2 separate regions of the Homo sapiens genome follow, and region 1 is linked to region 2. The links are contacts of gene promoters, found by promoter capture Hi-C in blood cells and fetal thymus (Javierre and others, 2016). All regions are on one chromosome and are shown on one strand. The core of a region is centred on a gene start or on the middle of the fragment in contact, and the rest is flanking DNA. Distances in the headings are between cores, read along the strand shown.

Region 1 (4,911 bases), core at 530-3,029, 350 kb after region 2:
GAATGGCTGTTACCAAAAAGATGAAGGATAACAAGTGTTGGCAAAAATACAGAGAAAAGCAGCTCTTTCAGTCTGTTGACAGGAATATAAATTATGGAAAACACTATAAAGATTTCTCAGAAAATTAAAAACAGACCTACCTTATCCAGTAATTCCACTTTTAGGTGTATATGCAAAGGAAATGAAACTAGTATTTTGAAGAGATATCTGCACTCCCATGTTCATTGAAAATTATTCACAATAGCCAAGACATGGAAACAATCTAAAAGCCCATTAACAGATGAATGAACAAAGAAAATGTGGTGTGCATACACAATGGAATATGATTCAGTCTTAGAAAAGGCGATTCTGCCATTTGCAACAACGTAGATGGAACTGGAGGACATTATGCTATGTGAAATGCTCCAGAGACAGAAATACATATATTGTACGATCTCACTTACATGTGGAATCTGAAAAAACAAACCCACAGAAGTAGAGAGTAGATTGGTGGTTGCCAGGGTTCTGGAAGGGGAAATGGGGAGATATTGGTCAAGGGGTATGAAGTTTCAGTTATGCTAAGTGAACATGCTTTGGAAACCTAAGGTATGGTAGTATGAGTATAGTAAACAATACTGCACTGTATACTTGAACTTTCATGAGAGGGTAGATCTTAAGTGTTCTCACTACACATGAAGAAATTGAAAACAGGAATTATGTGAGGTGATAGATATATTTTAAAAGAAAATATTTTTACTTTCAACATGGTCTCATAGGGACTTCTTTTTGATGTTGGTGTTAGACAGGACTCACATATGCCTCGGGTATCTCAGGGTGGCAGACAGACTGTAAAGTGGCCCTGCCTGTCCCTCAACCCTGGTGTTGGGCCTTTGTGTAACCTCCTTCTTTTGAGTGTTGTTGGTGACAGTGACTTGCTTCTAGCCAATAGACTATGGCAAAGGTGATAGGCTGTCACTCCAATGATTGTGTTATGTTATTTAAGACCCCATCTTGTTAGCAGACTCCCTTTAGAGACTGCTGACTTGACGTGAGTGGCCATGCTGAAACAGCTTACCTGGCAGAGACTGTGAGAGGCCTCTAGGACCAGAGAGCAGTCTCCCACCAACACCCAGGAAGAAACAGGGGCTCTCAGTCCTGCTTCGGAAGGCCCCTCAACCACATGATAATGAATTCTCTCACTGGAAATACAAAACCCGTTTACACCATTATCATTTACATCTCAGGATTCATGGAGGATCTAAGTAGAGATCTGGATGGAGAGGTAGACGAAGTGTTTGATTTTGAAGCGATTTGTGGGCAAAGGCAGTAAGGTAAGCATGGATGTGTAACAGGGAAGTACTGAGACAGAATTCTTTGATGTCACTATTTTTCCTGTGTATCTCCTATACTTGTCTCTATATTTAAAGTCTTAAGAATGTTCTGATGGGAAGAGGAGTGTTCATACGGCCTGAGGATGGAACTCAGTCACAGAGACCCAGAAAAATCATAGACATTGATACTAACCATGGCAGCATGCAGGAAAACTGGACAAGGCAAATTAGGGTAATTTGCAGGCCTAGTGGTAACTGACACTAGGATAAATTTGCATCCTGTCTGAGCCAAGAGCACACCTCTCCTCTTTAGCCTGAGCATCCTCCTCTCTAAGTGAGCTCTGGTTCAGATGCAGAGCCTGACCACTCTTTAGCACTCCTAGGAAAGATTAAAAACAGGACTGTGGCTAGGGGCAGGGAGGAGGCCAGGGACCAAGGCACTCAAGTGGGGACTGCAGGAGGGGTCAGAATGCAAGCAGCACTGACGGCCTTCTTCGTGTTGCTCTTTAGCCTGCTGAGTCTTCTGGGGATTGCAGCGAATGGCTTCATTGTGCTGGTGCTGGGCAGGGAGTGGCTGCGATATGGCAGGTTGCTGCCCTTGGATATGATCCTCATTAGCTTGGGTGCCTCCCGCTTCTGCCTGCAGTTGGTTGGGACGGTGCACAACTTCTACTACTCTGCCCAGAAGGTCGAGTACTCTGGGGGTCTCGGCCGACAGTTCTTCCATCTACACTGGCACTTCCTGAACTCAGCCACCTTCTGGTTTTGCAGCTGGCTCAGTGTCCTGTTCTGTGTGAAGATTGCTAACATCACACACTCCACCTTCCTGTGGCTGAAGTGGAGGTTCCCAGGGTGGGTGCCCTGGCTCCTGTTGGGCTCTGTCCTGATCTCCTTCATCATAACCCTGCTGTTTTTTTGGGTGAACTACCCTGTATATCAAGAATTTTTAATTAGAAAATTTTCTGGGAACATGACCTACAAGTGGAATACAAGGATAGAAACATACTATTTCCCATCCCTGAAACTGGTCATCTGGTCAATTCCTTTTTCTGTTTTTCTGGTCTCAATTATGCTGTTAATTAATTCTCTGAGGAGGCATACTCAGAGAATGCAGCACAACGGGCACAGCCTGCAGGACCCCAGCACCCAGGCTCACACCAGAGCTCTGAAGTCCCTCATCTCCTTCCTCATTCTTTATGCTCTGTCCTTTCTGTCCCTGATCATTGATGCCGCAAAATTTATCTCCATGCAGAACGACTTTTACTGGCCATGGCAAATTGCAGTCTACCTGTGCATATCTGTCCATCCCTTCATCCTCATCTTCAGCAACCTCAAGCTTCGAAGCGTGTTCTCGCAGCTCCTGTTGTTGGCAAGGGGCTTCTGGGTGGCCTAGATGGCATGGTTTCCTTATCTAGACCCCCGGAAAAGAAAGGTGAGGATGGCAGAGCTGTGGCCCACTGACATGGAGGTGTTTTCATAGGTAGATGAATACTGGGTACTGTTATGGGGCTCCTCCTCTGGGAAGCGGAGGAGACAAGGAAATCTGGGAACTCTCTGAGCATGCTTCCCTTCTTTGGAATGTTATAAAGATGCAGTCCCATGGATCCCAGAGAGCCAGTATTGCCCAGAAGTTCAGAATATGTTAATATGATGTCGTGCTACTCCTTACGTTTGTACCCCTTTGTTATCTGGAAGGCTTCGATTAAAAGTGTTGATTAACTGTGCCATCGCATCTCCACTGCCTTTCAGAAAGTTAAGAGCAAATATTTGCCTCTATGGCTGAACTGAGATGTGGATAGTGAAGCGACAGCCTTCTTGAGGACAAATGTCATGGTTACTACGAGAGCCCCAAGGGACAGGCAGTTGTGGCAGGCAGTGGCCTGGGCTGTGAGTTCTGATTGCCCTTTACTGCATGAAGATACTTTGTCTCCACACAAACTTGGATAATCTGGTTTTAATTTTATTAAGTTTACTGGAAGGTTTCTTTACACCACCCAGTTTCTTTTCTCATTAACATTTCTGACTTCAATTTTCTCTTCTCTGAAGTCTGAGTAGTAGCCAGACTTTTTTCTTGTTTATCATTCCTTTAGAAAAAGACACATTGTGACTTTCTTGTCTTCCTCAAGCATATGTCACAGAGTCACATCTGCATTGAATAAACATGTACTTTTCAATCTGAAAAACAGACTCAGGAATTTCACTGGACTGGGAGTGGTGACGTCCGTAATCCCAACACTTTGGGAAGCTGAGTCAGGCAGACTGCTCGAGCTCAGGAGTTCAAGAGCAGCCTGGGCAAGATAGCGAGACCTCCTCTCCACTAAAAATTCAAAAAAATCAGCCAGGTGTGGTGGTGTGCACCTGTGGTCCCAGCTACTCGTGAGTCTGAGGTGGGAGGATCACTTGAGCTCAGGAGATAGAGGCTGCGGTGAGCTGTGATCACTGTACTCCAGCCTGGGCAACAGAGTGAGACCGTCTTAAAAAAAATTCATTAGTTTGTATCTAAAAACTACTTAAATATTGTTTTAAAAAGAACCACCCTGTTCAAAATTTTACGTTTAAATACTGTTTTAAAAATAACTTGCTCCAATTACTATGCAAATGATTTTAGAAATACTTTTGGAAAACATTTTATTTAGAGATGAGTGCCTCTAAGATAGCTTAAACGTTTTTGCTAAAGGGCATCAATGTGCAAATTTCAGAGACAAGCTTGCAGCTGAATCCCTGATAGGGAGAAATTGTAATTTCCTCTAAGAGTGAAGACTTTGATTAGGGGATGTACTGATGAGTGGATGAACACTCATGAACAATAATCTTTGGGCACCTGGCTCTACATTTTTAATTTAAGCATTTATTTTTAAAAATACCTAATATATTTTCATGGCTGAAAATTCAAAACCTATTGAAGAGTATGTATAGAAAATCTCCCTCTTATCTGTTCCGTCCTGAGGCATTCTTACCAGTTTTATGTCTATCCTTGTAGAGATATTTTATTCTATCAGAAAGCCACTAATACCTAATGAACCAGTCAACTAACTTATGCACTGGTATATTCTATACTAGTACCTAACTAGCTACCAATCAAATAACTTATAATGTCTCCATCTTTCCATACAATGGTTGCAGAATACACACATTGTCCTGCCCCTTGCTCTTTTCACCTTATAACATATCTTGGAGAGCTATGTAAGTGGATATGCATAGTATTTCCTCACTTGTAAAATTTTTTGCACTGATGTGCCACAATTTCTTTAACTAGCCATGTGTTTGTGGTCATTTAGGTTACTTCCTGTTTTTTGTTGTTATAATAATGCTATAATGAATAATCTTCTGCATATGTAATTTTCCACATGTGCAAACTAACTATGGGAAAAGTCTCATGAAATGGAATTACTGAGTTGAATGGAATGTGCATTTCTAATTCTGACAGATATCACCCTTTATTGGTTTGCATCAATTTACTTTCCCACCAGCAATTTATTAGAGAACTTTTTTCACACTTTCTGTTTTTGCCAACCTGTTAGGTTAAAAAACATTAGCTGTCATTTGCATGACTCTTACTATGAGTGAGTGTTTATAATTATTTTATATGTTTAGAGCCATT
Region 2 (5,053 bases), core at 1,167-3,666:
TAGCCTGTGGCAAGCCTCACCTATATTCTAACTCTTTCCCTATGGGACTATACACATTCTCTTCTGTAAGCTTCCTGAGTTGTTTACAATCTGATTTTATCAACCTTTATCTGATTTCTTAAACCTAGACTTGTTCATTCTTTATGGCATAATAATTATGGTTTCTTTTTCTCCCTAATCTTCTTCCTCAAGGGACCTCAAGCTTTTCTCTTAAGACTTTCAACTGATCCAATGAGTCTGACCCATATTATGGAGGTAATCTGTTTTACTCAAATTTTACTGATTTAAATGTTAATCACATTTAAAACAAACAAACAAACAACAACTTCACAGCAACTTCTAAACTGTTGTTTTTCCAAAAAGTGGGCACCATGCCTAGCTAAGCTAACAAATAAAAGTAACCATCACAGCAGTCATGGCCTGAATAAGACTTGTCCTAGGCCAGGCACAGTGGCTCACACCTGTAATCCCAGCAATTTGGGAGGCCGAGGCAGGTGGATCACTTGAGGTCAGGAATGTAAGATCAGCTTGGCCAACATGGTGAAACCCCATCTCTACCAAAAATACAAAAATTAGCCGGGTATGGTGGCACCTGCCTATAATCCCCACTACTCGGGTGGCTGAGGCATGAGAATTTCCTGAACCCGGGAGGTGGAGGCTGCAGTGAGCTGAGATCATGCCACTGCACTCCAGCCTGGATGAGTGAGATTCTGTCTCAAAAAAAAAAGATTGTCCTGTACATTGTAGGTATTGCAGTTTCCTGCTAGCTCACAGAAGAACAGCCTCATTACCTTCAATAGATGCTCTTAACCCATCGTCATCTGCCTTCCTCTGGACACTGCCTTTTGGGAGTGCTGGAGTTGCATCCTCAAGGACAGGGCTATGCCTTCAAAGAGCCAAGCAAAGAACTTTTCCTGCATTTTCCCACACAGACACTTCCTAGATTCTTCTGCCTTATGCCTGCCTTGGTCAGTGTAGCTAGGATGTGCTTCAAATGGAAATTATGCAAGTGAGAAGGACCAGGTGTAAAGACAATTTAATTGTGGGAAAAGGCTTACAAAGGAAGGTCATTGTGACCCTCACAAGCAGTGTTCTTGAGTGGATAGGACATAAACAGGGAAGAAAGCATGTGATCATGAGAACAGCTGAAGTTCTGAGTGAGCAATGACATGAATGGTGTCCAATTCAAAGAAAAGAGAAGGTAGATCCAGGAGCTGAATAAACAGACAGAGCAATTTTGAGAGATACATCCAGAAAGCAGAAGCACACACTTACACTTTAGCTCTGAATCCTGGCTAAAGCAACATACAGAGGCGGTAACTCCTAGAACTCTGATTTTCACTCTGTTGCCAGAGAGGCTCTTCCTGGGCAGCTGTGTGCCATGCAAATGATAGAAACAAATCCCATAGTATTGTAAGTCATAGGTTAAGGAGCAGATTTAATTTCATAAGGAGAAATAACACAATGCCAGTGTCAGCAAGAGCAAGTCTCCCCATCATCCCAAGGAGAGGAATTCTACAACCTGGGTATCTACTGGACATAATGTGGGCTCCATTCTCACAGAAGGAATCCTTTCCACTGTGGTTCTTCCTGTGTGGCTTACGCATGAGACAAGTGTAAGAAAGTGGCCATGTCAATAAGAAAATAAGCCAGCTCTTTGGTGCCAAGAAGTCTGATTTGGGGGTGCCAGCTATTTATAGGAATTGTCTAGAATTAAAATATCACCCTGCCTTGGGGATTGTGGGGCAGCTGGGGATCTTGGACATCTGCAGTATATTGCAACCACACCTGAAATTAAGAAGGACTCAATGACAATAAACATCTTTACATCACCCAGTGTCTTGAACTCACTTCCCCATCATGTAGAGCAGCTCAGGTCTTCTCTAGCTCTTCCACCTCATGATGGGTAGTGACTGCTAGGGAAGTCCTGATCATCCTAGCCCTCCAAGAAATGTTTTGAATAGCATTGCATCTTGAACTCACTATAATTTGATCAAGCAAAGATGTTCTATGTCTCTGGTCTGAAACCTGCCACCACAGCTGTGTTCTCTGCTTTCAGAGACCAGGGGAGCAGTGACTGAAGCTAAGACTACACATAGCACTTCAGACAGGCAAATTAGGAGGGAAAAGAAAACTGAATCTGTAAACTCGGGAAAAACTGGTGTATCTTTTGAGGTCCCAGCCATTTTGAGAAACTCTGATGCTGAAAAAATAAGGAAGAACAATCTGACTCCTCTCTCAAACGCTGACATTCTAGCTGAGTGTTGATTTTTTCTTAGAAAAACAAACTTTGGGTCAACAAGGAAAGATCACGAGTGGGGAGGGTGAATGGGTGATTCACCTCATGGATCTCCCTGGCAGCTCTTGCACTTCCTTGATCAATCTGTATATAAGAAATGTGCTGGGCACCTGGGACACCACTTCTCTGGGACACATTGCCTTCTGTTTTCTCCAGCATGCGCTTGCTCCAGCTCCTGTTCAGGGCCAGCCCTGCCACCCTGCTCCTGGTTCTCTGCCTGCAGTTGGGGGCCAACAAAGCTCAGGACAACACGTGAGCCATGCCCTTCTCCTCCCCACAAAAAAAATTGCAGGGAGGGCTCCTCTCCCAGTCTGGAAATTACATATCTCTTTCTGAGAATTTCTTTCAACTTCCCAGAACTCTAGTCCCAGGAGCTCCCATGGATCTCCTGCCAGGTTCCACTTCTTGTCCTCTTAGGAAGCCCCACCAACTCCTCTCACATTTTTGCTGGGTGTTTCTGCATTGCCAGTGGAAATAAAGCTCCAAATGTACCTACAGGCTGTAATTAGTAGTTAGTCTTCATCTAACATGCTGATCCACATCTTGTTCATAATTTATACCTTTGTTCAGATTTCTGCTCAGTAAACTTTACCTTCTCACACCTTGCCTCCTAGAAGAGAAGCATAACAGGTCTGTGAATTCCAATGGCAGCTTAGGGCAGCTTTGGCAGGACTGGCTAAAGGACCAGAGGCCCTGGCCACTGCCCTGTGGTCTGAGATTGAGCTAGACTGGCAGCTTAGACATTCTTCCTAACCTGAAGTCTGAAGATGAATATGATGACCTCTTGCTCTCACGTATACTGGGACCTGAGAGCACAGGTTCAGAAGTCAACTTATTGAGAACACATGTGTGAAGGAAGCAGAAAAATTGGAGCAAGTAAAATAAAGTAGAAAATGGAGCCAAGGGTCTGGGAGAAAGCAGCGATACCCAATCTAGGGAGTTTTCTCTATAGCAGTAGGGTTTATAATGCTGGGTTTCTGGGTTGTGATCTTGGAGGTACTCTCTATGGCATGGTCAGATATCCTGTCCTGGAGGAAACTGTTCAGGGTTTTGACAAGCTAATGTAATGGAGGCAAGTGTCCCAAGAAACCCTGCATGGGGACAGGTTCAGATCCCACCCCATTCCCGCCAGATGACAGTCCACTTAGCCCTGAAGGGCAGCAAGGTATTCAAATAAGCTATGCTAATTAGGTTATCAACCATCCATCCTGATTTGCCCAGAACTTTCCTGGTTGTAGCACTGCAACTCTGCCCTCCCCCGCCACCTCCACAACCCATTCTGGAAAAGACCTCAGTCCTGGGTAAACTGAGATGGTTAGTCACTCGAACTAAGCTGGTCATCCTATCAATCTGAAACTCATATACAAATGGGAGAGATTTTGAAGTTGCTTAGGTATTTATACCCTTTTCCTGTGCACTGGGCACTACAGCAGTTGGCACCAAAAAATAGAATCTCTCTAAGATGCTTTGCCCCAAGAAAATGGGGCTGTGAGACACTGTGGGCTAAGAATCTCAATTCCCTTCTGTCCCACACAATAACAAAGGTCCGTAGCCGGGAGTTTCTAGGGACGAGAAAATAACTCTCCTGGCCCCGAACCCAGTCCTCATTGACTGAAGAAGAACATTTGACCATTTTATTTGTCTCCATTTCCTTTCCTTTTCAGATTGCAGTGTATGGTCTAAATGTAGAGTAGTATCTAAAGTTCCCAAACATGGCCATATGTCCAAATTTCCTAAGGAGCTAAATAAATACAAATTCCTAAACCCTACCTGGGGACCACAGAAGGAGGATCTTCAAAGATGCTCCTACAAATACCTCCAGTGCATTGAGATGTTTGCTGGGTTTTTAAAATTTTTTATTATTTTATTTTATTTTTCCATAAGTTACTGGGGTACAAGTGGTATTTGGTTACATGAGTAAGTTCTTTAGTGGTGATGAGATTTTGGTGCACCCATCACCCGAGCAGTATACACTGCACCATATTTGTAGTCTTTTAGCCCTCACCCCTCTCCCACTCTTCCCCGCAAGTCCCCAAAGTCCATTGTATCATTCTTATGCTTTTGAGTCCTCAAAGCTTAGCTCCCACATATCAGTGAGAACATACGATGTTTGGTTTTCCATTACTGAGTTACTTCACTTAGAATAATAGTCTCCAATCTCATACAGGTCACTGCAAATGCTGTTAATTCATTCCTTATTATGGCTGAGTAGTAGTATTCCATCATATATATATATATATATATATATATATATATATATATATATATATATATACCACAGTTTCTTTATCCACTCGTTGATTGATGGGCATTTGGGTTGGTTCCACAGTTTTATAATTGTGAATTGTGCTGCTATAAACATGTGTGTGCAAGTATCTTTTTTGAATAATGACTTCTTTTCCTCTGGGTAGATACCCAGTAGTGGGATTGCTGGATCAAATGGTGGTTCTATTTTTAGTTCTTTAAGGAATCTCCACACTGTTTTACATAGTGGTTGTAGCAGTTTACATTCCCGTCAGCAGTATAGAAGTGTCCCCTGATCACTGCATCCACGCCAACATCTACTGTTTTATGATTTTTTGATTACGGCCATTCTTGCAGGAGTAAGGTGGTATCGCATTGTGGTTTTGATTTGCATTTCCCTGATCAAGAGGTTTGCTGGTTTAATGTGATTCTGTTGCTAGAAAATTTTCTCCTAATAATGACTTGAGCCCTCCTACTCAGTAGACAACCACCAGAGCCTGTAGGATGTTA

What was found. The method cuts DNA at HindIII sites, captures the fragments that hold promoters and counts their contacts. A CHiCAGO score of 5 or more calls a contact.
Region 1: the fragment with the promoter of TAS2R41 here is called in contact with the fragment with the promoter of PIP in region 2 in 2 of 17 cell types (monocytes and neutrophils); the score reaches 7.7 in monocytes.

Annotation. Positions count from the first base shown.
Region 1 is chr7:143,476,094-143,481,004 of GRCh38, forward strand. It overlaps TAS2R41 (taste 2 receptor member 41), which reads left to right and starts at 1,780. Exons shown (of 1, transcript NM_176883.2): 1 at 1,780-2,703. The coding sequence starts at 1,780. The coding sequence ends at 2,703. All of the region lies in intron 2 of EPHA1-AS1 (EPHA1 antisense RNA 1), which reads left to right. The HindIII fragment of the contact is 17,498 bases long and covers 1-2,644 here.
Region 2 is chr7:143,129,661-143,134,713 of GRCh38, forward strand. PIP (prolactin induced protein) reads left to right here and starts at 2,417. Exons shown (of 4, transcript NM_002652.3): 1 at 2,417-2,551. The coding sequence starts at 2,457. The HindIII fragment of the contact is 4,172 bases long and covers 201-4,372 here.